Regions from separate parts of the Homo sapiens genome. Here region 2 is linked to region 1. The links are contacts of gene promoters, found by promoter capture Hi-C in blood cells and fetal thymus (Javierre and others, 2016). All regions are on one chromosome and are shown on one strand. Each heading gives the region's core, a stretch centred on a gene start or on the middle of the fragment in contact. The rest is flanking DNA. Distances are from core to core; before and after follow the strand shown. Region 1 holds the start of LTV1 (LTV1 ribosome biogenesis factor). Region 2 has its middle 24 kb from the start of PHACTR2.

Region 1 (4,333 bases), core at 678-3,177:
CATGTGCAATTGAGCTTCATTGCCCCTTCATGGGTCCTAGGTACAAACAATGGGGCATCAGCATGATCTGAAGAGTTTTCAGCCTCTGATGTCAAAAGGTGAAGTAGAGGCCAATAAAACCCTTACTGTGCCTGCTCCGTAGATTGGCCAGAACCATTCCATAGTGGGTAGTCTGTTACGCACAAAACGGAGGGCAGCAACAGGCTGATATCAGTGGTGGAGTCTTTTGAAAGGGATGGTTTCTATTTATCCCTTAGGGAAGAAAGCCTGATCCTGGTTAGTGAGGGAGGGGATATAACAAGGCAAAGCAAGAACTCAGTTTTCAAGGTTACTCTGGGTCCCCTTGGCCAAAAGGGAGTCCGTTCAGTCAGCTGGGGGGCTTAGTACTTAGTTTGTATTTCTCTTGCCTCATTTTTAGGATTTGTAAGATGCTGAAGATAATTGCGTCTCTTTCATAGTGTTGCAGTGAGGATGAAATGAGATGATTCAGATAAAGTGCCAGAACATTAATTCATTTAAATAAATACTTACTGAGCATATATGCCCCATGCATCAGGCCCCTGATGATACAGCAGTAAGTACAACTGATTGAAAGGAAATGAAAACTGCCCCCTTGGATCTTTTAATTCTATATAATGAATAATAACAACGAATCTCTGGCACATAGGAGTGCTATGTATTATCTCTGTTACAAAGCAATATCCTAAGACAAGTTTTATGGTCCTAACCTAAATTATTTCTATATATATATATTTTTGAGACAGAGTTTCGCTCTTGTCGCCCAGGCTGGAGTGCAATGGCATGATCTCAGCTCACTGCAACCTCTGCCTCCCGGGTTCAAGCTATTCTCCTGCCTCAACCTCCCAAGTAGTTGGGATTACAGGCACCTGCCATCACACCTGGCTAAGTTTTGTATTTTTAGTAGAGACGGGGTTTCACCACGTTGGCTAGTCTGGTCTTGAACTCCTGACCTCAGGTGATCCACCCGCTTCGGCCTCCCAAAGTGCTGGGATGACAGACATGAGCCACCGCGCCTGGCCTATTTCTATAATTTTTACTGTAATAAAAGAATAATACTCCACAAATACTTACAGTGATAATGCCTACGGCATAAAGACACAATCCAGGGTAAGCCATTCATTGAGAGGTCACCAGAAACTGGGAAGTTGGGGAAACAAATTTGAAAAAAAGGTCTGCTGATGAAAGTGACTGCATTTACCACACACTTTCGTCCAAGAAAAGCTATGTGAGTACGCCAACGCCGGCCTGAAATCTTCCTAAGAATGCGTGCTTATAGCCTATTTGTTTAAACAGGGGGAGAAAGTTAACATTCAAACACCAGAGATTCTGAATATATTTTATTAGTTCAAATGCCTCTACAGTTAACAGAGTCTCGGGGGTTTGGTTAACAGGGCAGATGAAAGCAGTTCATGAAACAGTGGAAAATATAACCTGATCAAGTCTGATGCAGTCTATAAAGGCAAGGCCCCAGCCTCCGTTGCTACGGCAACCGACTCCGCCCCCACCCGGAGAGGGAACCTGAAACTTGGCGACCCCAGCACCCCAGCGGGGTGGTCGCCTCCCTTCCGTGTCCGCGGCTTTGTTTTTTATGGTTGGGAATAGGTAAGGGACACAAGTCAAGGGGGATGCTAGATTCGTCCCCTCTGGTCTCCGTAGAGGGAGCTATAAAAGGTTCGTCCACAAGCAGAAACCCCTCTGTGGCGCCTCAACGTTAAGGACCCCCACGATTCCCTTTGCCCGGCGGGAGACTAAAGGCCGGAAAAGTACAGCCCGCCCAGGGGTGGGAGCCGAGCTAGCCCCACCTCCCGGTGGCTTCTCGCGATCGTGGAGACGCAGCGAGCCTATGTAACTTCCGGTCGCGACCCATCAGCTCCTCGGCGATTGGTCCGTTTCCACGGCCGGCTGGGTGACGTTATCGCCGGGTCCTGGGGCTGCACGTGTGGTGAGGCCTACAGAAGCGGCCTTCAGCTGGACCTTGGTCTCCCCGCCGGACTTCGAGGGTGTCATCGCCGCCCCTGTTGGGGGTGAGCGCCGCGCGGCTGCAGCATGGTGAGCAAGCCTTGCTTGTTTCGGCGGCCGAGCGCTGTGGTTTTGCAGAGGCCAGGCTGCTTCCGGTAATACCTTGGCTACTGCGGCCCGGGTCTGGGTCATGCCAGAGGCTGCTTGCGGCACGGTACCCCGAAATGGGCCAACGTCACCACCGTGGGCATTCTTTGCAAGTTACAGTCTCCCACCGCCGAGCCTCCCTGGGATGTGGCCCGGAGAGGAGAATGGCCTTTTTGTTTTATCCCTGGGAGCCTGCAGCCCTGCGTGATTTCGGTTAACTAAAAGCTGGTGACTGCCGACACAAACGCGCAACCCTGTGCTTCTTGGGGTCGAGCAGAGGGAGCTGCTGGTCTCCCTCAGCGTTGGAGTGGCAGGTGTCTGCCTGTCTGTTTCCTCTGAGAAAGGGAACTTGTGGGAGAGCATAAGGTTGGGCCCAAAGTAAAGCCACTTAATTGGTTTCCCAGTTTAGAGAATCAAAATTGAATAGCGAAGTAAGAATGTAGAAAGAGGTGATGGATCTTATTAAACTTTAGCTGTTTGTGTCGTGATTTTATTTACTGGTTGGTAGATGCTCTGTGTGGAGCTGTCTACTCCAGATTATGTTGTGGCAGGCTTCTTGTCATTCTAGTTCAGTCGGCCAGGGGCCTTCCCTGAGCAGCCAGTGTAAAGTAGCTTTTAAGGCATTTTCACGTCACTGTCTTATATTTTCTTCACCGGAAATTATCTTGATTTTCTTGCTAAGAACAGGGACTTTATCTGACTTTCCCACTTCTGTATTCTCAGTTCCCATAACAAGGTCTGGCACAAAGTAGGTGCTCAAGGAATGTTTGTTGAAGGAAGGTTAAGTATGGATTCTGCAGAACACAGCTGATGTTGCCTGCCCTAGAAGTGTAGATTTTTAAAAAGTATCTTTAACATGACTACTAAAGATGCATGTGTGGACTATGGAATTATTCTCCGTCTTTTTGTTCTGTTTTAATTAATTGTTGTGATTTTGTTCCTTTGAAGCCTCACAGGAAGAAAAAGCCCTTTATAGAGAAGAAGAAAGCTGTGTCTTTTCACTTGGTCCACCGGAGCCAACGAGATCCTTTAGCAGCAGATGAGAGTGCACCCCAGAGGGTTCTATTGCCCACACAAAAAGTAGGTCCTGTTCTTTAGCCAGTCAGTTTGTAGGTAGACAATAGTTTTTTTTTTCTTTTTTTTTTTTTAAATAAATAGAGTCTTAGCACGTTGCCCAGGCTGGTCTCGAACTCCTGGACTTAAGCAGTCCTCCCAGCTTGGCCTCCAAAAGTGCTGGGATTACAGGCATGAGCCACCACGCCTTGCTATGTTAATAGTTTTTAATAAATTGTTAGCCAGCTGTTATTCTCAGATAACTGATATTCTGGGAAATAATCTATAAGTTAATTTTCAGTACAATTGGTGATTTTTACATCATTCACATTATTTTGATTGGGAAGACAAAGATCTTTATTTGAGATGTTTAAACGAGCAAATCTTGTAGAATAATGGTAAATATTTACCAAAGCACCAGCTACAATGCGGCATGATGTTATTTAGGGCACCGATATATGCTCAAACTGTGCTTTCTCTAAGATCCTGCCGTTTCATAACCGCAAACTGCATTTTGCCTCCTGCTTGCTCATCTTAGGAAATGTAAAATATCTGAGCTCCTTGGTTAGCTCAGGGAACTTTGCAAGGGAGCCTGGTAAAGATTGACTTAATGTTAGACTCTACTTATTAAGACTCTTAATGTTACACAACACTTATTAAGTGTAGATATTATGAAACAGAGTGTTGGGAAACAGAGTACTGGGGGACATGGGCCACGTTTAGCTTTTCAGTAAAGCCAGTTTTGTTGTATGTTGAGAAGGGTTTTTTTGCATATAAATACAAGAAATTGTACTTACCTTTCAAGGCGCCCAAATCTCTGTTTCCCAGGCTGGCATGCAAAGTGGCTCCATCTCAGCTCACTGCAACTTCTACCTCTTGGGCTCAAGCGATCCTCCCACCTTAGCCTCCAGAGTAGCCGGTACTACAGGCACACGCCACCTGGCCTGGCTGATTTTTAAAATTATTTTGTAGAAACGAGGTCTCACTATTTTGCCCAGGCTGGTCTTGAACTCCAAGGCTCAAGTGATCCTCCTACCTCAGCATCCCAAAGTGCTGGGATTATAGGCATGAGCCACTGCACCTGGCCCCCCAGGTCTTTTCTTATAACCCTCCAAATAGATGATAAAATAAATTGTATGTTTGTTTCTTGACT
Region 2 (4,333 bases), core at 1,352-3,851, 190 kb before region 1:
GAAATACATTTATTAAGCACAGATGAGTGTTGTTTTGGTTTTTGTTTAGTGATTAAGTGTACAATCCCCAATAAAATATTTTGAAGTTTTTCCAAAGAAAAGAAACTCTGCCTGGCTGCATCAGCTAGACAAAGGTACCTGCGCTGCTGTTTGTTTGTTTGTTTGTTTGTTTGTTTTTCCCTGTATCTGCTGGAATATTTTAGCTGATGGACATTTGAGCTGGCATTACTTAAATGAGAATCTCTTCAAAGTGATGCACGCTGTGTTTTTCCCTGTGAGACGTGTGAATGCCTTGTGGATATTTGTGAGTACACTTAAGTGTTTTTGTTTTCCACTATGCTAGGTCAGTTTTCAGATCTTATTAAAAAGCTCAGGGTTTCGGGAATCCGACTGTTCTGCAAATGCCTGCTGCTGTTGTTAAGTGGCCTGTACCATCCTTGAGTAGGCAAGAAGAGCTGAGATTTCACCAGAAACAGTGACATTCACACCCAGGGGCTGAAATAAGGCGGAATGCCCACCTGGAGATAAGTCTTGGCTGTCACACCTGGACCGCCTGCTCTGGTCATGTGTGTGTGTGATCTATAATAGGGTCACAGCTTTATGAAATTCAGTCACTTTGTAGCAGCCACTCTAAGGAGGATGATTCATGGTCCCTGTGCAGGCACTGCACCCAGCACCTTCTCAGGAACATTCACATTATTTCCAGCTGGATTGAGGCTGGAAGCTCCCTGGCAAGCAATAGAAAAGCACCAGGTGTTCCCAGCAGCGCTCTCTTTCACCCTTGCAAGCTGCAACTGGCAAGAGAATTGTACTTGATGGCACACGGTGTGATGGTTGCCTCACTGCCAGAGCATTTGTTCTGGATGCCTCTGTCCCCAGGTGTCTCAGAAGTAATCCTAATCATTGAACTTTGGCCCTCTGGAAACAAGGCCAGTCGCAAGACACGTCAGGAAGCAATTTGTGCATCGAGACTCGAGCTGCTTTGGAGTTTCCCTCTGGATTTTAGTCAAGCTGTCACAAAGTTCATGACTTGGTTTTTCCACTCTTGTAAAATGAAGGCTGCTCTGACTCCTGCCTGCAATCTCCAGCTTATTGCCTTTAATACTTCCCTGTTGCTATTGCTAAACCCCTTACCTTATACAGACTGTGGAGATGGGCAAAGGAAAAAAATCTCCAAGCTTTTTGATATGGTGCTTTGAAGACACAGTTTACTAATGGCCTGAAAGAATTCATTGCAGCTTCCCACATGCAAAGTTTATTTTCGGAGAGTAGTTTATATATGGAATAAATGGAATAGAATTGAGTCCAGAAATAAACTCTCACATTTTTAGAAAATTGGTTGTCAACAAGGATGCCAAGACAATTCAATGGGGAAAGAAATGTCTTATCAGCAAACAGTGCTAGGGCAACTAGATATCTATGTGAAGAAGAATAAAGTGAGAACTCTACCTTACATCATATTAAAAAATTAACTCAAGATTGATCAAAGACCTAGATGTAAGAGCTAAAACTATAACAGGCTTAGAAGAAAACATAGGTGTAAATTTTCATGACCTTGAATTAGGCAATTATTTCTTTAAAATATGACACTAAAAGCACGAAAAACAAAAGAAACAATAATAATTTGGACATCATCAAACTAAAAATGTTGTGGCTCAAAGGACACCATCTATAAAGTGAAAAGACTACCCAGAGAATGGGAGGAAAGTTTTGTAATGTTGTATCTGAAAAGGGAAGTATCTATATAGAGAACAATTACAATGCAATAATAAAAAGACAAATACTCCAATGTTCAAATGGGCAAAGGATTTGAAAAGACATTTCTCCAAAGAAGATATTCAGATATCTAATAAACACATGAAAAGATGCTCAGCATCATTAACCATCAGGGAAATACAAATCAAAACCACAAGAGACCACTTTATACCCATGGGAATGTCTATAATCAGAAAGACAGGTAATAACAAGTGTTTGCAAGGATTTGGAGAAATTGATGGTGGAAATTTAAAATGATATAGTCACTTTAGAAAACACTCTGGCAGTTCCTCAAACAATCAATCATAGAGTTACCATATGAACAGCAATTCTACTTCTAGGTATATACCCAAAAAAATGAAAACATATATTCACCAGAAACTTGTTTATGAAGTGCAGAGCAGCATTATTCTTAACAGCCTAAAAGTGGAAACAACCCAAATGTTCATCAAACTGATGAATTCGTAAATAAAATATACTATATCCACTCAATAGAATATTATTTGCCAATTAAAAAAAATAAAGGCTGGATACTGTGGCTCACACCTGTAATCTTGGCACTTTGGGAGACTGAGGTGGGAGGATCACTCGAGGCCTGGAGTTCAAGACCAGCCTGAGCAACATAGCAAGACTCCATCTCTACAAAAAGTAAAAAATTAGCCAAGCATGGTGGTGCACGCCTGTAGTCCTAGTGACTTGGGAGGCTGAGGTTGGAGGACTGCTTAAGCCCAGGAGTTCAAGGCTGCAGTGAGCAATGATCATGCCACCACACTCCCGCCTAGGTTGCAGAGCAAGACCTTGTCTCTACAAATAAACAAAAACTAAATGAAGTATTGATACATGCCACAACATGGACGACTCTTAAAAACATCATGCTAGCCGGGCACTGTGGCTCACGCCTGTAATCCCAGCACTTTGGGAGGCCGAGGTGGGTGGATCACCTGAGGTCAGGAGTTCAAGACCAGCCTGGCCAACATGGAGAAACCCCATCTCTACTAAAAATAAAAAATTAGCCGGGTGTGATGGCACATGCCTGTAATCCCAGCTACTTGGGAGGATGAGGTAGGAGAATTGCTTGAACCTGGGAGGCGGAGGTTGCGGTGAGCCGAGATCGTGCCACTGCACTCCAGCCTGAGCAACAAGAGTGAAACTCCGTCTCAAAAAAAAAAAAAAAAAGAAAAAGAAAAAAAAGAAAACATCATGCTAAGTGAAAGAAACCAGGATGAACGTTGTATGATTCTATTTATATGAAATGTCCAGAATAGGCAAATTCCTAGAGAAAGAAAGTACATTAGTGGTTGTCTAGGGTTGGGGGAATTGTGGGGAACAGGAAGTGATGCTAATGGGCATAGGGTTTCTTACTGGGTTGATGACAATACCATAAAATTGATGGTAGTGATGGTCACACAACTCTATGAATATACTAAAAACCATTCCACTGTATACTTTAAATTGGTGAATTGTATGCTATGTGGATTATATTTCAATAAAGAAGATATTTAAAAATCACAAAATATAGATGATTAGAGAATATGGAATATGTCATTAATTATAGATTTTTTCTGCATTTTTAATACTTTCTTTGACTTCACTTGCTTTCTCAGATGTTTCTTAGAAAACATCCAAAGCAAAGATTTACAACTCTGTACGGAAGCCACAGATTTTGTAAGAAAAGGCTAAAGAGAAAAAGATTACTGCAATGTAGTGTTTGCATTTATGATTTACTTTCTATTCACGTTTCAGACTTAGTTATTTACTTTGCACCTATTACCACATACTTGCTATTATCTCTCCATACACATGAAAGTTCTTCGGAATTTTTAGTAAAATGTCCTCAGTTTCTGAGTCAAACCTGTCTACTGAGAATCAAATATAGTTTTCACTAAAGTTGCTTCCTACGAATTGCCATGTGAGAAAAAGAAGAAAACAGACGGGCAGCAGATACACTATTTTCTCCTAGTTGATGGCAAAAATTAGATCTCTATCAAGATCAAAAAAGAGTTCTTTATTCCATGAACTAAGTTTCTTATCCTAAGGTGATTACCGGGGGAAATATTTAAAAGAAGCATCAGTGGAGGGAAGGGTAAATCGTGGGATAAAATACACTCATTGACTTTCTTCTCCAAGCCAAACTGCAGAGGAAATAACAGGCGCAGAGACTTCTAGCAGGGTTGTCTGGTGGGACATGCCCTGGGATATGGGGTCAGTCCATTCCTGTCCAGACCAGGGACTTCCTCTGACCTTGGCAACTCAGTTACCTCCTGTGAGCCTAAGCTTTCTTGTCTGCAAACTGAGAGATCTCTCAAGTCTTTCCTGGCTGTAACAGTTACAGGGGCGTCCAATCTTTTGGCTTCCCTGGGCCACATTGGAAGTAGAATTGTCTTGGGCCACACATAAAATACACTAACACTAATGATAGTGGATGAGATTTTTTTTTAATTGCAAGAACATCTCATAGTGTTTTAAGAAAGTTTACGTATTTGTTTTGGGCTGCATTCAAAGCCATCCTGGGCTGTGTGTGTCCCACAGGCTGCAGGTTGGGCAAGTTTGGTCTATGATTTTATAATCTGATCTAGTA

What was found. The method cuts DNA at HindIII sites, captures the fragments that hold promoters and counts their contacts. A CHiCAGO score of 5 or more calls a contact.
Region 2: a contact is called between a fragment that was not itself captured here and the fragment with the promoter of LTV1 in region 1, in 1 of 17 cell types (erythroblasts). The highest score is 5.4, in erythroblasts.

What each region holds. Positions count from the first base shown.
Region 1 is chr6:143,841,411-143,845,743 of GRCh38, forward strand. It overlaps LTV1 (LTV1 ribosome biogenesis factor), which reads left to right and starts at 1,928. Exons shown (of 11, transcript NM_032860.5): 1 at 1,928-2,070; 2 at 3,076-3,207. The coding sequence starts at 2,068. RefSeq lists enhancers at 1,732-1,781, 1,962-2,171, 2,362-2,431. The HindIII fragment of the contact is 13,446 bases long and covers 1-4,333 here.
Region 2 is chr6:143,652,244-143,656,576 of GRCh38, forward strand. It overlaps a transcript of PHACTR2 not described here. Among named protein-coding and RNA genes, the nearest start is that of PHACTR2, 24 kb to the right of the region's middle. The HindIII fragment of the contact is 2,851 bases long and covers 1,177-4,027 here.